Regions from separate parts of the Homo sapiens genome. Here regions 2 and 3 are each linked to region 1. Evidence: promoter capture Hi-C in human tissues and cell types (Jung and others, 2019). All regions are on one chromosome and are shown on one strand. Each heading gives the region's core, a stretch centred on a gene start or on the middle of the fragment in contact. The rest is flanking DNA. Distances are from core to core; before and after follow the strand shown. Region 1 holds the start of FRMD3 (FERM domain containing 3). Region 2 has its middle 41 kb from the start of IDNK. Region 3 overlaps FRMD3 (FERM domain containing 3).

What was found. The method cuts DNA at HindIII sites, captures the fragments that hold promoters and counts their contacts. A contact is called where the count stands out against the background at its distance.
Region 2: a contact is called between a fragment that was not itself captured here and the fragment with the promoter of FRMD3 in region 1, in 1 of the 25 tissues and cell types used here (neural progenitor cells).
Region 3: a contact is called between a fragment that was not itself captured here and the fragment with the promoter of FRMD3 in region 1, in 1 of the 25 tissues and cell types used here (neural progenitor cells).

What each region holds. Positions count from the first base shown.
Region 1 is chr9:83,536,870-83,540,415 of GRCh38, forward strand. FRMD3 (FERM domain containing 3) reads right to left here and starts at 1,532. Exons shown (of 14, transcript NM_174938.6): 1 at 1,216-1,532. The coding sequence starts at 1,362. The HindIII fragment of the contact is 11,978 bases long and covers 1-3,546 here.
Region 2 is chr9:83,580,175-83,583,720 of GRCh38, forward strand. It overlaps a transcript of FRMD3 not described here. Among named protein-coding and RNA genes, the nearest start is that of IDNK, 41 kb to the right of the region's middle. The HindIII fragment of the contact is 4,095 bases long and covers 1-3,546 here.
Region 3 is chr9:83,501,693-83,505,238 of GRCh38, forward strand. All of the region lies in intron 1 of FRMD3 (FERM domain containing 3), which reads right to left. Among named protein-coding and RNA genes, the nearest start is that of FRMD3, 35 kb to the right of the region's middle. The HindIII fragment of the contact is 4,434 bases long and covers 1-3,546 here.

The DNA.
Region 1 (3,546 bases), core at 282-2,781:
TCTGGGAGATGCTGCCCCACTCACCTCCCACTGACATGGGTGGTGTGCCCTGTATTACACTAAAAAAAAAAAAAAAAAAAAAAAGCTCAGTCCCAGAGCCTCAAGACTCGACTAGGGTAGGTGAGAAAGGAAATCCCAGAGATAAACAGTTAAATAGATTTAGAAGTCAGAAGTTAATTGTGCTGAGCCCTGACACAACCTTTCCTGATTGTGTGCGCACCGAGTGGGGCATCTTTGGGGTCCTGGAAGAGGGGCTCCCACCTGCCTACATATTCACCCACAGCAAATATGCACACGCACGCGCAACCACATGCACACACACACCTTTGCACCTCACACTAGCTCTCCTGACAGCCCAGAGGCACTTACTACCCGAGGACAGGGCTGCCAGCAAAGCTGCCTTCTCCCAAACAACTCGCCTTCTCCTCCAACTTGGGCGACAGTGAATGTCCACCAAGATTCCACGGGGCTCTTTTACCCAGGACCCAGGTTCCTGCAGGGCTCCCCACTTGCTGGCCTCACAATCCCTTTTCCTTTCTCCGAAACACTCAGACTTCACACATTCCTTTCGAGGTAGCTCCAGTCCGGCGCAGCGCGCGCTCCATCCCTCAAGGCTGGCGCCCAGGGCAGCCCGGCCTCTCTCACTCTGGGGAAACTTCGCCACCGCCCCACGCGGAGAACTAAAGACCACCGGCGGAGGGTGAGGGGGACCGACACGGAGCGGAAAGCAGGTTCCGGGACTGAGGGCGTCTCCGGAGCCTGGGCGCGGGAGACAGAAATGAGTGAACCCAGCTGATGCATGCCTTCTCCACGTGGAAGAAGGGAGGAAATACCAGTGGGCGACATGCAGGTGCCCCTCTCAGCCCTCGGAGCTCCCATCTCCTGGCGGAGTAGGGCCCAGAGGGGCCAGAGTCCCTCCGGAGGCAGCTGCCCCGCGCCCCTAGCCCGGGCGCAGTGAGACGCGCGCGCAGGGTGCACGCGAGGGGAAGGAGACTGGGCGCGGATAACGCGTGCCTGGCGCTTGCAGGGCACCATGCCCCTCCATGCCAGGATAAGGCCCCCCACCCTCAGAGGCCTGAGGAATCGAAATCTGGCTTTCTAGCAGTCCCCCAATCCCCTCCGGGAGTGGGTTCCTTGTTCTCGCATGCCCACCGCAAAGGCCCCCCGCCCTGCTCCCGGCGTGTGCCCCGCGCCCTCGCCCGGTTCCACGCGCACCTGGATGTGGCAGGAGATCTCCGAGTCGTCCAGCAGCCGGATGGTGCATCTCATCTCCTGGCTGAGCGATTTGACGCTGGAGCTCCGAAAGTGGATCATTTTCATGGTCCTCCTGCCTCTCGGCACACAGTGGCAGGAGGCGAACATGCACCGCGGCCGTGGGGAGCGAGCGGGAGGCTCAGGGCCGGCGCGGTGCTCGCCTGCGCGGACACACACGCTCGCACGCACTGTCCGGGACACCTGGGCGCGGCTCAGCCCCGGGACATCGGCAGCGTCGGGCGCCTGCGGACACACATGCCCAGCGGCCGGGGCGCGGCGGGCGGGTCCCTCCCTCTGTTCGCTCGCCTCCGCCTCGCCCCCTCCTTTCCCCGCCTCCTTCTGTCGCGCGCGCTCGTGCGCCTCCCTCTGCCCGGGCTCGCTCGCCGAGGACGCCCAGAGCCTGAGACCCCCGGCGGGCTCGCGACGCACTCACTCCCACGCGCGCCGAGCAGCTGAAGGAGGAGGCGGAGGGATGGCTGGCGCGGCTGGCCCGGGTGCCCTGGTGGTGGCCTGCTCAGTCGCAGCCGCCGCTGCGTCAAGCTGGGCCCGACTGCCTTCCTCAGCCTCACCGCCTCCTCCCTCCCCTGGCCGCTGTCGCTCGGGCTCCCGGTTGTGCTCGTCCCGGCCCCGGCTCCCCAACGCGCTCGACAGCGCCCTGCTCTGCTCAGCTCCAGGGACCTGGCGCGGGTAGGGGACGGAGAGCGATCCTGACCCACACCGCCAGGGGGATTCCGCCTCGGGAAAGGATTGCTGGGCCCAGGGCGAGTGACAGAGAGAGTGACAGCCCTGACACGGCTACACCAGGAATATCGCTAATAGTAAAAATCTCTGGTACTCATGGAGATTGTTTAAGCCATTGTTTTATTTAATGCTAGCTAGGACTCAGTCTCTTTCTCCAAAAAAGAGCCTTCCATGTGCAAATCCTCCTTTAAATCTCCCAACATCTTAGTGTGATCTTTGATAGCATACCTTTGACCCGAGCAAGAGGGATAGGTTCCTATCCTACTCCCCTGCTTTACAGACCTCCTCCAGTTCCCGGTTGCTCAGGAATTAAGAGGTCTAATGGCAAAGCGGATGTGCCCCATCCCGTTTTAGTCCAATCTCTGGGTATTGAGGACTCTGGAATTCCCCACGCGCCTCCAGGGTGTTGAAGGTAGGAGGTATCCTGCCTCTCTGTTGTCCCCAAGGTGGCTAGAGCCACTGTGTCAGGTACCGTAGGCCCGAGAGTGGCCAGGAGCAGCTGTTGAGTCAGGGGTATGGAGCTTGAATGTGAGCACTAGAATGTCCAGGAGCTGGGAGAGATGGAAGTCCTCTCACCCTGTTGCTCTTGCCGGAGCAGAACAGGTCATTAGGAAGGAACATTTGTTAGAAGAGGAGGTGTTGACCAGCTGTCAGCTTTTTCAAGGTTTGTGCCTGCATAGAGTCCCCTCATCCAAAGATATGCCCTGTCCTGGGGGTCGAGGAAGAGTGGCACACAAATTTTACCTGCCCTGGACAGTCTGGTGGGCCATATATTCTCTAGGACACCTAGTGGGGTTGGCTAAGGTTTGGGGGAGTCCGCATTGCATTTGGACTTCTCTCTCTGCCTGCTCCTGCCTCCTCTCCCTGTTGATCACTAATAAATACCACACAGGACAAACTCAGTCTCAGTATCTGCTCCTGGAAATTCCAAATTGCAACAATTTGTCAAGATAGGAGGATAGAGAATGTTTTATGTAGCACTCAATAGCTGACTATTGCTTATGAATATTTAGATGATAGTATGGGGCATTCATGTAGGCTCTTGAGCTGGGCCCTTCAAATGTTAGGGCAGATCCTGATGGAGAGGTCAGTATTGAGGGTATGGGAAGATGTGGATTTCATTCTTGGCCCAGCTACTGGCTAATCCTGGGGATCTTTGAAAAGTCTCTCCATTTCTTTTCTCATTTCAAAGGAGAGAACACCTGTTCATCCCACAGGTGGCTGGGAAGCTGGTATGACACCGGGTCAGTGGAGGACATCTTACAGCTGTAATCTGTAAATCCCCATATGCACATATGAGGTGGCAGGGATGGGACCTGCCCCAAGTTGAAAACTGGATCATCTCTGCTAGCCAAAAGAGCAGACAGCCCAGAGATCAAAGAAAAGTCACCAGCCAAACAGTCCATGCTTTTCTTTTAAGACCACACACACACTTGTCCATCCTATTATAGTGACCGTTAGGCTCCAAAAGAGTCATATCAATACCCAAAAATTGTTACCCCAAATTCCAAGGAAGCAAAATAAGACCAACAAGGACAGTAGTGAAAAAGA
Region 2 (3,546 bases), core at 468-2,967, 43 kb after region 1:
TGTTGGTGGAAATGTAAATTGGTATAGCCATCATGAAAAAATTGTGTGTAGGTTGCTCAAAAAAGTAAAAGTAGAACTCTGTACAATCCGGTACTCTCATTTCTGGGAACATATTCAAAGGAATTGAAATCATTGTATCAAAAGGATATCTGTACTCCCATACTCCCAATAGCCAAGATAAGGAATCAACCTGTGTTCACTAACAGATAAATGAATAAAGATAATGTATGTCCAGACAATGGAATACTATTCAGTCTGTAAAAAGAAGGCAATTCTGTCACTTGAAACAACATGGATAAATCTGGAGGACAGTATACTAAGTGAAATAAGCCAGGCACAGAAAAACACGTACCTCGTGATCTCACTTATATATGGAATCTTTAAAAAGTTGAATTCATAGCAGTAGAAAGCAGAATGATGGCACCAGAACCTGGGAGTATGGGGATCAAGAGAATGAACGGGGAATTATTGGCCAAAGGGTACAAAGTTTCAGCTAGACAGGAACAATAAGTTTTGAGATCTACTACACAGAAGAGTGACTACAGTCAATAACGTATACTTCAAAATAACCAAGGGAAGAAATCTCAAATGTATTGCCACAAAAAATATCAAGTAAGGTGATGGTTATGTTAACTAGTTTGATTTAATCATTTCACATTATATACATATATCAAAATACCACAATGTACCCCATGAATGTATACAGTTATGATTTGTCAATTAAAAATAATACTAATTTTTTTAAATGAAAAAAACTTCAGAAGAAAACAAAGCATAATGGAAAATAAAAGTGTTGTGGAGAGGGAGGCTAGATCAAACAAGAACAGCAAATTGTTGAGGCTGGGTGCTAAAAACAAGGAGATTCATTATATTGTCTCATGTTTGTTTGAAAATTTTCATATTAAAGGTTTACTTTTTAAAGATGAAATGTTAAATAAATAAAATAAATTTTAAAATGCTAAAACAATTTAACTTTTGTGCTTCAGTGAACACCATCCAAAAAGTGAAAAAAACCCACAGAATGGGAGAAAATATTTGCAAATTACACCCCGTTAAGGAAATTGTATACCAAGTATATAAAGAACTCTTACAACTCAATAATAAAAGGGCAACCCAGTTTTAAAACAGGCAAAGGATTTGAATAGACAGTCCTCCAAAGATACACAAATGACCAATAAGCACATGAAGAGATGCTCAACTTCCGTAATCATTGAGGAAATGCAAATCAAAACCACAAGATCCACTTCACATCCACTGGGAAGGCTATAATCAGGCAGATAATAACAAGTATTGTCAAGGATGTGGAGTGATTGGAACCCTAATACACTGTTGATGGGAATGTAAAATGGTGTGGCTGCTTTGAGAAAATGTGTGGCACTTCCCCAAAAGGTTAAACACAGACTTACCATATGATTCAATAATTCCATTCCTAGGTATATGTCCAACAAAAGCAAAAATGTATGTCCACACAAAAATTTGTATACAAATGTTCATAGAAGCATTCAAAATAGCCACACACAAAAAGTGGAAACAACCCAAATGTTCGTCAGCGGATTAATGAATAAATAAAATGTGGCATATTCATACAATAGCATATTATTTTGCAATAAAAAAATGAAGTGTGTAGTTATGCTAAGTGAAAGAAATTAATCCCAAAAGACCACATAGTGTATGAATTCTTTTATGTGAAATGTCCAAAATAGCCGGCAGAGTGGTTGGGGAGAAATGGGGAGTGATGGGTACATGGTTTCATGTTAGAATGATGAAAATGTTCTAAACTTGATGGCAGCGATGCTTGCGTAACTCTGTGAATATACTAAAACCATTGAATTATACACTGTTAATTGTATGATATAAGAATTATACCTCAAAAGGTTGTCATAAGTAATAAAAAGTAATCTCTTTTTTTTTCTTTAGAGACAGGATCTCACTCTGTCACCCCAGCTGGAGTACAGTGGCACAATCATAGCCCATAAAGACTGGAACTCCTGGGCTCAAGTGATCCTCCCACCTCAACCTCCCAAAGCCCTGGGATTGCAGGTATGAGTCACTGCATCCAGCCGAAAAGCAATATCTTAATCAAGTCTTGAGAAATACCCAGATCAGAAAATGTTGCAATTGGAAGAATTCCAGGTTTAGTGAAAAGATATTCAGTGGATTTTCAAGAGAACTTCCAATTCTTAAATTTAGTTCATTAAAGTGATACTATTTAGTTTAAAAGGATTTAGAGTATATTTGCTCTTAAACTTGATTTATTAGGGAACCTAGTATCTGTTTTACTGTGGATAATTTAATAAAGAGTGGTCTTTTTATTTTAAATTCTTGGGGTAAGAAAAGGTAGTAACTCCCATTATATTGGAATAATTTCAAATCACCAACTTGCACATACAACAGTGTGCTCTAACTACAATCTTGGATGAGGTATAAAACTCTCCATAGCAGAATCTGTTAACCTAAACAAGCAAAAACATAACAAAAAGTTACTCACTTTGTATGTCCTTGGTAATAAGTTTAATGCAAATTTAGAAGAAAAATGAAATATTGGTGAGATGCTATATTTTTACTTCAAAGCCCTGGAATTAGCATTTGGAGAGGTTCCCAAACATTATTTATGGTGTCAGTGACTCTGTTCTCAAATTGAAGTACCATTTTTGGCCTAGATTTGAGATCAGGTACAATTAATGAAGCACCTGGGGAAATTTTTCAAACAGATCCAGATAATCAGTTTCAAGTTGTAAGAGACGTTGCAATTTGGGATCGATAAGCCTATAGCCTCTTGAACATGGAGCACGTCTCACTCATAATGAATCAATGTTTTAAAAACTGAACTTATTCCACTAAACACAAGTCCTCTCCAGATGATATTTAAGATCTTCACCAACCATGACTTACAACTCATTTCCAGAGCCAAGAGTAATATTTTCCATCCCAAATTATTCCATAGCTTTCCAATCTCTTCTATTTTTGAGAATTCGCTTTAGAGAAACTATTATTTCTTATTTTTACTGGCTTTTCTGCACAAAAATTTGTCCTGGTAAAAATTTAAGTTGCTTCAAAAAAATAACATGCTGACTACATTTCATTTTGGAAAACTTCAGTGTTAAGAACATCTCGCTACTCACACTTGATTCCCCTCAACATAGAACCAGACATGTCCCATTCCTGCCAGCAGAGGGAGGGGTAGAAGCCCTTTCTAGCAATACCATCAGCAATTTGTAATGCAAAAGCCTTCCCCCTGCCAGCCCCATTTTCTCACAATACCGTACTAGCCACATTTCTATTATATTTTTTCCAAAGGAAAGTACATATTTACCATTTTACTCAAAGTATAATTAAAATTACATTACCAGATCCATCAGACACACTTCAATTTACATCTTGCTTTAGATATAATCTAAATTAGATATAATCCCTTGCATTAGATACAATCCCTTGTTGAAAAAAAAATTTTTGAGACAGGGTCTCACTCTGTAGCCCAGGCCGGAGTGTGGTGGCCCAATCATGGCTCACTGCAGCCTCGACATCCCAGGCTCAAGCAATCCTCCC
Region 3 (3,546 bases), core at 427-2,926, 35 kb before region 1:
AGGTAACAAGATGATTGGTATGTAACAAGCGGCAAGGCAACCACATCTCCTGTTTGTTCTTGAGAGGAATTTCTTATTGCTAGCAGGGCTTCATTTTCATCCCTGCAGCCAGTGCTCACATGAAGAGATGCATCTGATTAAGTGACTCCATGCATTTGAGTAGAGAGGGAAAAGGAAAGCCAACTCTACGTTTAATATCCTCTTTTCTCTGCAATGCATTTACCTCCTCCTTTCTGCTGCAACTCTAAATGAAGTACAATTTAAGTCAAGCACCAAAATTTGTTACTTATGGAAGCAACTCCTTTAAGTGCATGAATCATTAACTTGTTTTATTTATCTAGTTATGTGTCTTGTTCTGGAACAAATGTGAGACAGAAAATATTAACTGTTTTTAGGTATGGACCTGGGGTGGATCACAAGACTGGGCAGTGCCAATTAGGGAGAACACGCAAATACCTAAGCATGCGCCACTTCGAATTCAGTTCCAAAGGGCAATTGCATCCCAGTTAATAAATATGCACTGGTCCCTGCTGTGTACCGGGTAGTGTGCTAGGAGCTAAGGACACAGTGGTGAGTGCAACAGAGAAGGTTCCTGCCTTTTTGATGGAGGGTACATTCTAAAGGCATGTTCCCAGTACCAGAAGTAGAGGTGACGTGCCAGGTGCCTGCTAAAGCTAAAGTTTAGTTTGTAGAAGAGATGTTCTGAGACTTGATATCTGCCTCTAAGTATCTGAATCACCATATTTTATGAAAAGAAATGAGTTATTTGGTACAGCTATAAGCCATAAATAGGTACACTGTGCGAAAGTCAGAAGGAAACTTACATGGGCCCAATAGAAGAAAGAATTTCTTAATAAATGGGCCTGTTAAAGAATGGAAGAGGTCAAGTGAGGTGTTCCAGAAGAGGTGGGCAGACAAATCAGGATGGTACCCGGAAGCTTGCTGTGAGGGGAAGAAGCAGAGGCAAAGGGCAGCAGAGGTTACCTCCAATTTCATGATTCAGTGGACTCCAAATCAAACCACAGAAATGCTTTGAAAATCTCGGCCCTCATAATTTTAGCTTTAATGAGAAGCTTTAATGATCATATATTGATATAAAAGGCCATCATTTCCTTTGTCCTCTGCCATTCAGAGTCAGACAGAAACACTAAACACTGATTTCTGATGGTTATGCTGGGTTCCAGTGCACCATGTGGCTTCAAAATGCCAACTGCCTCTCTGGAAAAGGAGAAACTGGGGTTCTGGAAATACAAGCACACTGTAGTAATTACTATAAGGGCAAAGATAGGCCCTCATGACTGATTTACTTTGGTAATTACTACAGTGTAATTAGCAGTAGTACTGCTAATACTACTGATATTGGCTGCAAAAGACTATTGGGAAGGGCAGAATTTCTAAAATGGCCCCTTAATGATGTCCTGCCCTAACCCCCAGAACCTATCAACATGACGACAGAACCTATCCTATGATTGTGCTATGTTGCATGGCACAGTTACTATGCTATGTTACATGGCACAATTGGCCATCAGATAGGGAAATTATCTGCATTATCCTGGTGGGTCATATACCCTATAGTCCTTAAAAGCAGAGAGCTTTCTCCAGCTGACGACAGAAGAGAATTCAGAGAGATTCAAAGCACAAGACGGATTTCATGCATCGCTGCTGGCTTGATGTTAGAGAGGGGCATGTGATAAGGACTGTGGTGACCTCTAGAAGCTGACAACCAGTAAGAAAATGGAGACATCAGTTCTACAACTGCAAAGAACTGAATTCTACCACCAACCTGAACAACCTTGGAAATAGATTCTGCCTCCCAGCTTTCAGTGAAAAGCCCAGCTCTGCTGACACCTTGAGTACAGATTTGTGATACCCTGAGTATAGAACCCAGCCAAGCCTGCCCAGAATCCTGGTCTAGACACCAGTCTAGGTCTACAGAGCTAACTAAGTGGGTGTTGGTTTAAGCCACTGAGTGCGCAGACATTTCTTACACAGCAATAGATAACCAAGGCAGAATCCAAAGGGTGATCATGAAGCACTGTAAATTAGACATTGGATCAGAAGGGCCAACACTCCAGGGCCACATCTCCACCAGCCAAGTGGGCCAGATGAGTCCAGATTCAGAGAAGCCTGAGGAAAGCAGCACCACAGTTGAAATCATGGACAGAAAAGGCACAACTCATTCGTGCAAGAAGGAAAAGGAAGATATAGCTTGAGAAGGTCCTGTGTGATTAACACTAGCTAGAACTCTCCTGCAACTCAGGGGAACCAGCTGCTCTGTAGCTGGTGACAAGGGCGGGAGTGGGGAGGTGGTAACGGAAGAGAATACACTCCGCATCCTGCTGCAGTTTGGGGTGTGCACTGAGTGCTGCTGAAGCCAGATGCTACATGGCCTTCGGGTTTGTACTGCTCTGTGGTGATAGCCCTTGGAAAGGAAGAGGGATCAGCCCTTGCCAGCTTCCCCTTCAAGGCCAGGCCAGTGCTTATCATCTCCTGAGCTTGACTTTCACACAAACGGAAAGCACCACCAATGACTGTAGACATTCAAGTGGTCTTGGGCTTCCTAAAACTTCTCACTATCCAAGGGCACAGTTTTCACCTCCTAATGGGTCTCCCTGTGTTTGCTCTTCTCTCCCTAGGGCCTATTCTCAACAGAGCAAGTGCATGATCCTCTTTAAAAACACAAGACAGACCATGCCATTCTCTACCAAAGCTTTCCAATGGCTTCCAAAGCTCTTCAAGTGACCTATAAGACCCTCAGGTTGTCTGCCACCCCCTCTCTTGGCTTCTTTCCCAGTCCTCTCCTCCTCCCTCACATTCCTCACACTCGCCAAGCTCCCTTCTGCCTCAAGACCTTTACATCTGTTCTCTTTCTGAAATGTTCTTCTCCCAGGTATTCATTTGACTTCCCCCCCCACCACTTCTTTCAGGCCTCTCCTCAAATACCACCTTATCAGGGACACCTTCCCTGACCACTCTATAAAGAACAGTACCGCTTCCCTACCTCTTCATCCTCTAATCCCCCTTACTCAACTTTATTTTTCTACATAGAACTCATCACATCACCTGTGATAATTTTTATTTGTATGAGTGTTTGCTTATTGTCAGCCTCTCCCTACTAGAATATAAGCTCCATGCATGTGTGTTGTTTACATCTGTATTTCAACATCCTCTCACGGTACCTTGCACAGTAAATATTGATAAATGAATGAATTAATGGCAGGAGATCTTCTGGGAGATGTTGGGTCCTCAGATTGGGTCAGCTCACATCAAACAACACGCAATATTGGGTTCAAGATCCCAAAATAGTGAGGTATCAGAGTTGCTACTTTCTTGATTCATTCTTATGGCAAAAAAAATGTTCATGCATTTACTCTGTGCCATGTGTCTATGCCTGTCATGAGATTTTCTTCCACACAGCAGGAAAGTCCCCCTCCTACAATAATGCACCAGGTAAAATATCAATGGGTGTTTTACAATGATTCACATAGAAGCAATGGAACAGTCTAGAAATATCCATTCTAATGTGAAATCTTGTAAAATACAATA